Regions from separate parts of the Homo sapiens genome. Here region 1 is linked to region 2. The links are contacts of gene promoters, found by promoter capture Hi-C in blood cells and fetal thymus (Javierre and others, 2016). All regions are on one chromosome and are shown on one strand. The core of a region is centred on a gene start or on the middle of the fragment in contact, and the rest is flanking DNA. Distances in the headings are between cores, read along the strand shown. Region 1 holds the start of CAPN11 (calpain 11). Region 2 has its middle 29 kb from the start of MRPS18A.

The links. Contacts are between HindIII fragments. The CHiCAGO score rates a contact against its expected background, and 5 or more counts as called.
Region 1: a contact is called between the fragment with the promoter of CAPN11 here and a fragment that was not itself captured in region 2, in 10 of 17 cell types (neutrophils, naive CD4 T cells, activated CD4 T cells and 7 more). The highest score is 11.5, in neutrophils.

The regions. Positions count from the first base shown.
Region 1 is chr6:44,155,214-44,161,156 of GRCh38, reverse strand. CAPN11 (calpain 11) reads right to left here and starts at 2,337. Exons shown (of 23, transcript NM_007058.4): 1 at 2,293-2,337. The coding sequence starts at 2,308. It overlaps LOC107986599 (a long non-coding RNA gene), which reads left to right and starts at 2,554. Exons shown (of 3, transcript XR_002956350.2): 1 at 2,554-2,572; 2 at 5,825-5,943. It overlaps TMEM63B (transmembrane protein 63B), which reads right to left. Exons shown (of 24, transcript NM_018426.3): 24 at 5,638-5,943. RefSeq lists an enhancer at 991-1,160. The HindIII fragment of the contact is 9,288 bases long and covers 445-5,943 here.
Region 2 is chr6:43,713,405-43,719,647 of GRCh38, reverse strand. No RefSeq gene overlaps it. Among named protein-coding and RNA genes, the nearest start is that of MRPS18A, 29 kb to the right of the region's middle. The HindIII fragment of the contact is 2,271 bases long and covers 3,116-5,386 here.

The DNA.
Region 1 (5,943 bases), core at 1,088-3,587, 440 kb before region 2:
AGAGAGGGCAAAAGATCCAAGCTGTCACATGGGCTAGGAGCGTGAGAAGGCTGAGACAGACAGACCAAGGCTGCCTGTGGGAAGCACAGACAGATGGCCAGAGCAACACAGTAGCTCCCCTTAACCCTAGGGGTACGTTCCAACACCCCCAGTGGACACCTGAAACTGCGGGTGGTACCAAACCCTGTATATATCAATACTATGTCTTTCCTTTATGTACATACCTATGATAAAGTTTAGTTTATAAATTAGGCACAGTAAGCAGTTAACCATAATAAGTAATAAAATATAACAAATACAACAATACAATAACAGTAATGTGAATGTGGTCTCTCTGTCTCAAAATATCCTGATGTTTTCAGACTGCAGTTGACAGCGGGTAACTGAAACTGCGTGGAAAGCAGGGGCTGCTGCATGTTAAAAGGCATGAATGGACAGGAAGCTTTCTGCTGCAGCTGCACATCCTGTCTCCTCCATCAGACTGAGAACCTACAGATCATTTTGTTGTTGTTGTTGTTGTTGTTTTTTGAGGTTTTTTTTGAGGCGGAGTCTCACTCTGTCGCCCAGGCTGGAGTGCAGTGGAGCGATCTTGGCTCACTGCAAGCTCCACCTTCTGGGTTCACGCTATTCTCCTGCCTCAGCCTCCCGAGTAGCTGGGACTACAGGCGCCCGCCACCACGCCTGGCTTATTTTTTGTATTTTTAGTAGAGACAGGGTTTCACCGCGTTAGCCAAGATGGTCCCGATCTCCTGACTTCGTGATCTGCCCGCCACGGCCTCCCAAAGTGCTGGGATTACAGGCGTGAGCCACTGCGCCCGGCCAGATCGTTTTTAACTAAATCAGTTTTATTTTATTGACAAAAAAAGTATATATCTGTTGTATACGACATGGTGTTTTGAAATATGTATTCACTGTGGAATGGCTCAGTTGAGCTAATTAATATCTGCATTACTGCACATACTTGTTATTTGTTTGTGGTGAGAACACTTAAAATCTACTGTCAGTGATTTTCTTTTTTTTTTGAGATGGAGTCTCGCTGTGTCGCCCAGGCTTGGGGTGCGGTGGCACGATCTCGGCTCACTGCAACCTCCACTTGCTGGGTTCAAGAGATTCTCCTGCCTCAGCCTCCCGAGTAGCTGGGATTACAGGCGCCCGCCACCACGCATGGCTAATTTTTGTATTTTAGTAGAGACACGGTTTCACTATGTTGGCCAGGCTGGTCTCGAACTCCTGACCTCAGATGATCCACCTGCCTTGGCCTCCCAGAGTGCTAGGATTACAGGCGTGAACCACTGTGCCTGGCCTCTCTCAGTGATTTTCTAAATGCAATACATTGTTATTAGGGGACTATAGATTTAAGGACAGTTTGATTTCCGGCACTGGGAAAAAACTAAGATGTTGTGTCAGGGAACTTTAAAAAAAAATAAATACTAATAAGTAATAATAATAAATAAATAAATTATATTTTGAGATGAGGTCTTGCTATGCTGACCAGGCTGGTCTTGAACTCCTGGGCTCAGGGCACTTCTGAAGAACAAGGACTGGGTTTGGGGTCACCAGCTAGGCCTAAACTTCCTAGGGTCAGGTAAACAGGGAGGGCCTGAGAAGCTGGGAGGCTGGGTCTAGGGGCCCATGGTCTCACGGTGCCCCAGGCTGAGGGTGAGGTACAGGGCTGACCTTCTGCTGGCCAAGGCTGGCTGCCCTCTGTGCACCCTAGCCCCACAGGAACAACTCAGTTCTGCCCAGCCCTCCCCTTCCCCCCAGCCCACTCTCCCCCATCTCCTGGAGTCTGGTCCCAGGCTTGCCTCAGGTAGTCCTGCCCCTGCCACCCTGAGGATCTCATCTTCCTGGGCTGAGGGACCTGCTTTTCTAGGCTTAGGAGAGGTTCTCTCTGTTCCCTAAAGTTTTCTTCTCTACGTGGGCTTTTTCACACAAACCCTTTTCCCCAGCAGCCATGACAGTGGGATGGCCGGCCCCTCTCCTCTCCCCAACTCCAACTGTCAGTGGAGAGGAGAAAGAGTTCCTGCCCGGCCTACCACCCAGTCTGACCACCAGTGGCCTATCCTTCCCCAAACAGTCTGAGAACGAGGCCCAGGTCCTGTCCTTAGGGAGCATCCAGTCTGATGGAAGAGTCACTCTCTGTACCCTCAAGGGGCATCCAGTCTGATGGAAGAGTCACTCTCTGTACCCTCAAGGGGCACCCAGTCTGATGCGGGACACAGCTCCTCCCCTGGGGGGAGGCTCTAGCCTGCAGGAGGTACAGGAGTGGGGCAAGGCCCCATGAGTGCCTACCTGGGGAGTACAGCATGCTGGTGGCTAGCTCGGTGCTTGACAGTTGAAGGTTCTGGTGGGAGGGGGAGAAGAGACCCTCCCCCCAGAACTCTCTCATTGCAGTGGGATTCCTAGGTCAGCAGCCGGTTTAACAGCTGCCTTCCCTTTTCTCCTTCTCAGTAACCCAGCCCCTTACCCAGCTGAGGGCTACCCGCTTTAGGGACAGATGACCCAGCACCCCTGCCTTGCACAGCCTCCACCAGCCTGGCTGTCCTCACTGTATCACGGTCATCCCATCAGGGTAGGTCCCAGTCCCTTTTTTTCAGCCCAAGGTTTCCAGGAAGGGGTTGTCCCTGACACACCAACCTGACCTTTACATCCAGAAAGCCTTCTCATTCCCAAAAGCCCCTTTCTCACTGACATGGCATTTTTCCTGTGTTGCTGTCTTCACATGGCACCCTCCTCTGTGTCTCTTCTTCTTATAAGGACACCAGTCATATGGGGCTAGGGTCCCATGCATTTCAGTATGACCTCATCTTAATTGAACGAATTACATCTGCAACCACCCTGTTTCCAAATGAGGTCACATTCTGAAGTACTGGGGGCCAGGACTTCAACATGCCTTTTTGGGGGACACGATTCCACCTGCAACACTCTCCTTGCCTAGCCCCAGTCTGGCAAGGTTAGGCCACTGGTCTGACCACATGTCCTGCCTCTGCACTGGAAAGTGGGAATGCTTTGAGCTAAGAACTCTGCTCCAGAGTGCAGTCTTCTCTGGAGTGTATGATGGCTGAGGACAGGGACTGTCAAGGTCATCCCAGTGCCCCTCAGCCCTGCCTGGTGCTAATCAGGCACAGAACAGGTGTGAGAGCACCCAATGGGATCAGAGAACCTTGTTCCAAGCTCTGAAACAGGAGCTGACCTTGGGCGAGCCCTCCCCCTTTCTCCTTTCTGGGACTCAATCTCCTCATCTACGAGAATATTAATTATGGTTTGTTATTATGTGCCAAACACTGGGCTAAGAACTTCCTACTTATTTAATCCTTAAAACAGCCAGAGGCCATGACATTGCTATTCCCATTTTATAGATGAGGAAAGTGAGGTCTAGAGGTATGATGCAACTTGCCCAGGGTCACACAGCTGTTAAGCGGTCGAGCCAGGATTTAAACTAATAACTTCAGATTTTTTTTTTTTTTTTTTTTTTTGAGATGGAGTCTCGCTCTTTTGCCCAGGCTGGAGTGAAGTGGTGCAATCTCAGCTCACTGCAACCTCTGCCCCCCGGGTTCAAGCGATTCTCCTGCCTCAGCCTCTCAAGTAGCTGGGATTACAGGTGCCCACCACCATGCCCAGCTAATTTTTGTATTTTTAGTAGAGACGGGGTTTCGCCATGTTGGGCAGGCTGGTCTCGAACTCCTGACCTCAGGTGATCACTCGCTTCGGCCTCCCAAAGCGCTAGGATTATAGGCATAAGCCACCGTGCCCGGCCATAACTTTAGCTCTTATCCGTATCTTCTGCTGCCCCCAGCTGTGAAAGGAGGAAGTGGTCTTTGGGGATCCTGTGGTCTCCCCTGCCCACTCCTGATTCCACTATTGCACCTCTTGGATGCCTCTAATGTGATCTGCCTGGACATGAACTCTGTGACGAGGTGCCAGGGGTAGGGTGCAGGCAGGCACGGGTGTTCCTCTCTATTACAGCCTCCCACCCTGGGGGAGGGCTGTCCTCAGGACTCTTGCTCAGTGTGCTGCTTGGGCATTATCTGGAGTTTCACATTTGGAAATGCTGGAACCTGGCTTTGAACTTCAGGCCCTGCAGGAAAGGGAAGGCATGCTGGGCAGATGAGGAATGAGAGGGTCTCGGCTAACCAGAGGTGGGGGCTGAGGTCTGTCCAGGCCATGCTTTGCAGACAAGGGGGCTTGCCAGGCAAATGGCGGTGGTGTGCCTGCCCATCCATACGGAAAACAGGCTTCGGGAGCACCGAGAAGCCTTCACACAACCAAGGTGCTCCTTTCAAAGCCATGCCAATATTTGTCCAACCACCAGCAGGCACTCCCTTGGCCCCAAGACTTTGGGGACTCTACCTGGGAGCTCATGTTTCACAACTGCAGATCTGACATACATATGCAGGCTGAGGCCAGGACCAAGGCCTCAACTTTCACCTCCACTGTCACTGGCCCATCCTCCACCCACAGCCCGCCCATAAACACTGACCCTCCAAGCTGTGTTTGCCGCAGCTCCCTGCAGCCTGGGGCTGGACCTTGGGCGCTCTTTGCTCCTGCTCCTTGCTGGCGCCTGGGCAATCTTTATCAGGCTTGCTGTGTTTGCTGTTCCTGCTGTTGGTGGTTCCTGTTGACTTTTGTGGAACCTGGTTCTCCTCCTCCTCTGAGGTCTCTTTTCTTCCCTCTAAGAGTTCCTTTTTCTTCCTTTTCTTCAGGGTTGCAAAGTGATTTAGTGACAGAATAAGGACTGGAATGCAGGCCTCCTACAGTACATGCAGTACATGCTGTGTGTGCATGTGTGTGGGTGTGCACCACATGGCTCTGTGGGCCTTTGCAGGGTGGGCTACAGCAGTCACAGGACCTTTTTTCGAGGTGATTTTTTTTTGTTTTTTTTTGAGACAGGGTCTTGCCCTGTCGCCCAGGCTGGAGTGCAGTGGCATGATCTCAGCTCACTGCAGCCTCCACCTCCCAGGTTCAAGTGATTCTCATGCCTCAGCCTCCCAAGTAGCTGGGATTACAGGGGTGCACCACCATGCCCAGCTAATTTCTGTATTTTTTGTAGAGATGGGGTTTCATCATGTTGGCCAGGCTGGTCTCGAACTCCTGAACTCAAGTGATCCACCCACCTTGGCCTCCCAAAGTACTGGGATTACAGGCGTGAGCCACCGCGCCTGGCGAGAAGGTGAATTTGAGCTGGGTCTTGGAGAATGGGTAAGATTTGACTGGAGGGTGGGAGGGGGCTTCTCATTGAGGAGATCAGGCCCTCCTGGGGAAGGGACAGATGGGCTGGCGCCAGGCTTACTTTGAGGTGCTCAGAAGGGCCTTCGTCCTGGCCCAGCATGGACCCTGTGGCTTTGCACGACCTTTTCTCCCTGAATCTCTGTCCCATGTGTGTTGCTCAGGGACTCAGGGGAATGATCAGAGTGGGCGAGGCTGGTATGGTGGCCACCTGGGCACAGGGGCCCTTCCTGCCTCTGAGATATCCCTTAAGTCTCTCCCCAGCCCCACTCTCTCCTCTCAGTGACACAGAAATGAGACTCTGAACAAGTCCCTTGCCCAGCGTCATGCAGGGACCTCAAAGAGGCCCTCCAGATAGGAGGGTGGGGACCCGGCCCAGGTGCCCAGGGCAGCACAAGTCAGACACCTGCCTCAGAGCTTTTCTTTGTTTTTATTTTAAAGGAAAAAAACAAAAAAGAACAAAAAAACCAAAAAAAAAACAGTGCAAAAACCCATTTTCCAGTGTCAGCCTTGCCCACCCCCACCCCCAGGCCACCCCAGCTGTGAGCCTGACTCTTCCTCCCACTCAGCACCCCCTCCCCCCTCATGCATCCCCTAGGGGCTGGAGGCTCCACTTCCCTGGAGGGCCAGATCCCAGGAGGAACTGTGGGGTGGAAAAAACGGAGGGGGGGGAACAGCCCCAGATCCACCTGCCCCCCAGGTCTCCAGCCACCGGCA
Region 2 (6,243 bases), core at 3,002-5,501:
CTTGATGGAGCACAGTCAAAGAGGTGGCTGCCATGGGGCCATGTGAGAGCTGTCCGGACACCCAGGGGTCCTCCAGGCCATTGGGTTCCACCCTCCAACTCCCATCTCCCCACCATTCCCAGGGCCCAGGCTGGCCCCACAAACAGGAACAGCTCCAAGCTGGGGTAGTTCAGCTCCAGATATCAGGCCGGGAGGGCTTTCAGGGATCCCTGGATGAGTCCAATGCTGGCACAGTGGGCAGATGGGGAAACTGAGGCTGGAGAGAGCAAGAATTTGCCCTCAGCCACAGAGCAAGGTTAGAGGCACAAGGACCCAAGGCTCCTGGCTCCCATTTCTGTGCTGTTTGCCATACCAGGTAGGGACCCTGGAGAAGAAGGGGTGGGTAGGTTTGGAGTGGGAACTCAAAAAATCCACCCCACTCCACCCCAGAGTAAAGAGCATGAGCTCTGAAGCCAGAAGAGCTGGACACAAATTCTAGCTCCACCTTCCATCATTCTAACCTTCAGCAAATGTCTTTAGCTGTCTGCGCCTCCGTTTCCTTAACTGTGAAATACATATAACAGTAATTGTAATAACCTCATAGTGATATTGGGAGGACTAAATGAGTGGACACATATAAAGTGCCTGGACAGGGCTCCATATGCAGTAAATGCTCAGTGAACACTAGCTGTCACTATCTTATGGTCCTCAAAAGGTCTCCGTGTCCTGTCGAAGTCCAAAGTCTTTCCTAAGCCAGCAAAAGGCCTTCCCCCAGGAATGATTGTAGTGAGAGGTGGCTCAGCCACAGCCATTTCCCAGGATGTGGGTGGAAGCCGGGGCCCTTCCCCAGTGCTCTCACTGACTCCACCCTCCGATCTCCTGTCTCAGGGACTCAGTGGCCGCTTGGCCCCTCCAGTCGCCAGCCTGTCTGCCGGGCTCTCACGCCTGATGCAGAGATAAACACATCCCACGATAGTATTGTTTCCCATTTCCCACAGCTCTCAAGTGAGATCTTAGAGGGTGGGATTAGCTGGGCATTTGGGCAGTTTCAGGGCTTGGAAGGGTTGAGAGAGGCTGTTCCCAGAGCTGGCCGGTCCCCAGTCTCTAAAGGCAGTGGAGGTGGCCAGGTGTGCAGGGAAGAGGTGAGGGGAGCGGCTGGGGCCCGAGTCTCTGGAACATTCTGCCACCATCTCCCTACACCACACACAGGCATATTGAGTCTAACAAGGAGGAAGTGTGGAGAAATAGTACGCCCTTCTCCACAGTCAATTCTCTCCCTACACCCAGATCAGAGCCTCTGGCCCCTGTATTCCCTCAGGTGGCTGATCCAACTATCAAGATGTCACCAGGGAATGGGAAACCCAGAGCCCTTGGCAGAGAGAGCCTGCAGCGCCCAGAACCCAGGCCCGGGGCAAGCTGGGCAGGCCGGAGGGAGGGCAGTCTGGGGAGATGGAGTGTCCAGGCTCGTGCTTACTTCATCGTTATGATCGTTATGGGTAGAGTCAGCCAGGGGAGAGAGGCCTTCCTCTCCCAGCCAGGGCGCGCCCCTCCTTTCCACCCCACTCCCCAGTACTCCCAGTACAGCCACTCTCATGACCTCACTGCTACGGCCAGGCCAGGCCAGGCAGGTGGCCACGAGCCAGGGACCCGCCAAAATCCACATCCCCCAGAGACCATCGTGAGCCAGGCAGGGGCAGGATGTGTTGCTAGAATAGCCTCCACCCACCCAAACCAACGCCCGCGAAGACAGCCTGTCCTACCAAGTGTTTACTCCAGCCAGGCAGACTCACCTCCCTCTCAACAAGGCTGAACCTAGGGCAGTCCTTCACTATGGACCCTGTCTGTCAGCCAGACACATCCCACCTCCTCCTCCTCCCCTGCTAAATCCTGCTCGGCTGTCCTGTCCTTCCCTGAGTGACTTACCGGCCTCTCACCTCTCCACCATTTTGCAGTGATGGTAGTGGGGGTAGAGGGGTTGTGATGGAGATGGTGACATGGACACAGAAGTACTGGTCGTGACAGCCATTATAGCAGTTTCAGGGTGGTGATGGTAACAGTGAAGGGGATGATGGTGAAGGTGATGGCGGTGGTGATGGAGGTGGCAATGATGGAGACAGCGATGGTGGTGGAGGGAGTGATGTGATTGTCATAGTGGGAATGAGGTGAGTAGGGATGCCTCCCTCTGTAGGGTACAGGACCATGAAGAAACCGTTGGCCATGTCACTGAGGCCTACAGGAACATCGTGGTGAGTCGAGATTTTCTAGGGCATCCAGCACAGCAGGCCCCCAGAGCAGTAATGGCCTCTTCCCCTGTTTCCCAGTAGAGCATCATTATGTTCCCCTCTCAGACTCCTGGAGACCCCTCCAACTTGAAAGCAAGTGTCATCTGCCCTGGAATCTACTGGGGCCACCCTTGAAAGAAGGTGGACAGAGGCCAGGCTTGGGAGACAGAGGATCCTGGGTTGGAATCCTAACTAAATGGAGTTCACTTGGGTCTGAACCTCACTGTAAAATGGAAACCATAATTCTCTGTGGCAGGGTCATTGTGAGGATAGAGATAAATATCTTTAAAAGTGCCTGGCACAGAATAGTGGCAAGATAAATGGTCAATATTTTGTATCCTGTTTTCCAAGGCTTTCTTATGAAGCCTCCACCTACCCACTCCCCCCACCCCAACCCTCCTCCATATGCCTCCCTGTCTTCATTTTCTAGAGCTGCCGAAACAAATGACCACAAACTTGGTGGCTTAGAACAACAGAAATTTATTTTCTCACAGTTCTGGAGGCCAGAAGTCTGAAATTGAGATGCCAGCAGGGCCAAGTTCCTGTCCAGCTTCTGGTGGCTCAAAGCATTCCTTGGCTGTGGGCTCCAGTCTCTGACACCACCTTCACATGCGTCTTCACACGGCTGTCCCCACCACGTCTCTCAGTGTTTTTACTTGTTTCTTAGGAGGACGCTTTCACTGGATTTGGGGCCCACACTAATCCAGCGTGATCGCATCTCAATCCTCACCTTCATTACCTCTGCAAAGATCCTATCTCCAAATAAGGTCCCATGCTCAGGTTCCAGGTGGGCATAAACTTTGGGGGTCTCTATTCAATCCACTACATTCCCCAACCTCAGAGTGAGCCAAGCTTAATTCCCCAGACTCCCTATTACCTGGCACAGCCATGGTCCCTGCCCAAGCCTGCTTCCAGACCCCCACCCCTCTGCCCCTGCATGTCCCAGGTCCCGTGGCCCTGCGCCTGGGCTCCCCAGTGCCATGCGTGCATGCCTATGTGCATGTGCACAGATTCCCCCTTCACTTGGCGGTGAGAAAGGGGGATTCTAGGCTTCAGCAGGAGCCTACAGGGGCCTCTCTGCTCGGAAATGCTTCTTCCTCTCCCCCTGGCAGCTGTTTGGCTTGGCGGGGGCCCATCTGGCAGGCTCAGCAGCCAAGGAGCCCTAGGGGGCAGTGGGAGGGAATGGTGAGGGGCAGGCAGCTCCGTAGTCCTCAGGCCCAGGCCCTGGGAGCTGGGCCAATGGCGGGCCTCCCTGCTGGCTGGCTCCAGCCCCTTCGCTCTTGGTTCTCCTCCTCCCTGGTCTCCCGTCCTCCCCATCCTGTAAAGGGGAATTCTGGAGACCCTCCACCACCCTGCACTAGCCAAGGAGAAGACGTGCAGAAGAGGAGCAGCAACTGGCAAAGCAAGAAACACACCCAGGGAAAGGGCAGTCAGTGGCTCCTGAGGATCCGCTCATGGGGGCTCTGGATACTCTTTGAGGGCACCCTAGGACAACCTGGACTTCTCCCAACCTCTGATATTCTGTCCTCTGCTCCTTCCATGTTCCTGAAATTTCCTGTCCCTGGTGTCCCCTCCAGGGCACTTGCCTTCTTCCAGGGCCCCTCTGAACCCCCAAGCTGTTGCCTACTTTTCTGGGTCAGGCCTCTCTTCAGTAAGCAGGACAGAAAATGATGCCCTCAGCCCCTAGCAGGTCCTACAACCTCTTTCTACTGATGGGAAAATGTAAAACACATGCGCACACACGCACACACACACACACACACACACAGGGAGGGGCACAGGATAATGAGCCTGGGCTTTAGGGTTCATTTGGCCTGGGTTCAAGTTGCAACCCTGCACTTGACACCTGTGTGATCCTGGACAGGTAACTTAGCCTCTCTGAGCCTTGATATAGCCTCATAAAAGTAAGACTACTCATAGCTAACTTCCAGGGTTGCAAGGATAAAATTGCATAGCCTCTGAAATAAGGTAGGTATTCTCTAAATGACAACAACTTCCTATGTGCCAGGCACTGCATTAAGCACTTTGCATAGATTATCTCATTTAATACTAATAATAACTTTATGAAATAGAAACTATTTCATGGCTAAGGAAGCTGAGCAGTTTGCTTTGGGTCCCAGAACTGGTTGAGAGATTGAGCTGAGATTTGATTCTAAGCGCTGTGAATCCAAACCCTGCACTCGAAACTACCATGCTCTGTTGCCTATGCTACTGGCAGTGTAGACATGGTAGATGGTGTTAGTATTAATACCACAGAGAGCAGCTGGGCTGCAGGGGTTTTCCCGGGGCCCCTGCAGGTGCAGCTTGGAGGTCAACCTTACCCTGCACACAGATTTGCATGCAGCTTGAAAGTCGGGATCTGCCTGGCTGCCTTAGTAATTCTGGAGTCCTGGACACGAGGGCCAACCCATCCCAGTCACAGGAGACCACTGAAACTGAAGCTCCCAAGGCTCTCGTGCCTTGGCACATCTGGAAGCTATTAGCCTCCTTTCTACCACCTACCCCCTCAACCCCGCCCCCCAGCCAGCTGTTCACAGTGGCTAATTCTGGGAAGTGCCCCTCAGCCAGTGGCTGCCTGCAGGGGAGCGGGGAGGGGGGTTCCTCACCAACACATCCATGGGGTGGAGGGGAGGTGGGCAGGCAGCAGAGGGTTAATCTGAGTAACTACAGCTGCTGGTCTCCTCCCCCAACCCACAGATAGATAGCCAGTGGGGTTACTCCTGGTTGAGTAATGAGGAGGGAAGAGAGCGGGAGGAGGCAGGGGTGAGTGTGGAGGGAGACCAAGGAGCAGAGACTGAGAAAATGTTTCTGCTGGCAAAGATCTTTAAAAGGTCATCTGATATTGTCCATCCCCCTGTTTCCTGGGGGTCACGGTGACCTCATGGTGTAGTGGAAAGAGGGCAGTCTTTGTAGTTGAGCAAAGCTGGGTCACAATCCTGACTCCGTCGCTGTCAGTCTGTACAACCTTGAGCAAGGTCCTTACCCTCTCCAGGCCTAAGCAGCCTCATTTGTGCAATGGGAGAACAGCACCCCTCTGGCAAGGCTGCCAAGAGAGTTCTGGGAGATACAGTCTGGTCCATGCCCAAAAACATTCGCTCCCTCATCTCTAAGAGCGGCAAGAAGCTTCGAGAGAGGTCTTCCCTTGGTTCCACTACCTGCCTCACTTTCTGGGATCTCACCGTCTAGATCCTGAATCCAGCACACCCATCTTACTGTGAGGCCTGCCGTCAAAGCCATGCCCTGCCTAGAGACTTGACTTGCCCTCCTCTCTGCCCAGCGCTGCCCTCCTCACTTTCTAAACTTGCTGAAGACCCCCACCGCCGGCACTGACAGCTCCCACTGGCTCCAATTGTCCCAAACCTCCCTCCACCCCGTAGTACCTGTGTCATTCAGGAGGTTATCTGACATCTCTGAACTCAGTTATCCTGGGGGTTAAATGTCGCTGCTGCAAAAATGCCTCCTTATATACTACTGCGCGTAATCTTCATAGCAATTCTTGAAAATAAGATCTAACCACAATTTTGTATATCGAGAGGGAAGAACAGATGCTAACTTTTTTTTTGTTTTTCAGATTTGAGACAGGATGTCACTCTGTCACCAAGGCTGGAGTGCAGTGGTGCAATCTGCTCACTGCATGCAAACTTCACCTCCTGGGCTCAAACAATCCTCCCATCTCAGCCTCCCAAGTAGCTGGGATTACAGGTGCATGCCACCACACCTGACTTTTTTTTTTTTTTTTTTTTGAGGTGAAGTTTCATTCTTGTTGCCTAGGCTGGAGTGCTGGGGTATAATCTTGGCTCACTGCAACCTCCGCCTCCCGGGTTCAAGTGATTCTCCTGCCTCAGCCTCCCGAATAGCTGGGATTGCAGGCACCCACCACCACATCCAGCTAATTTTTTTTTTTTTTTTTTTGAGACGGAGTCTCGCTCTGTCGCCCAGGCCAGACTGCGGACTGCAGTGGCGCAATCTCGGCTCACTGCAA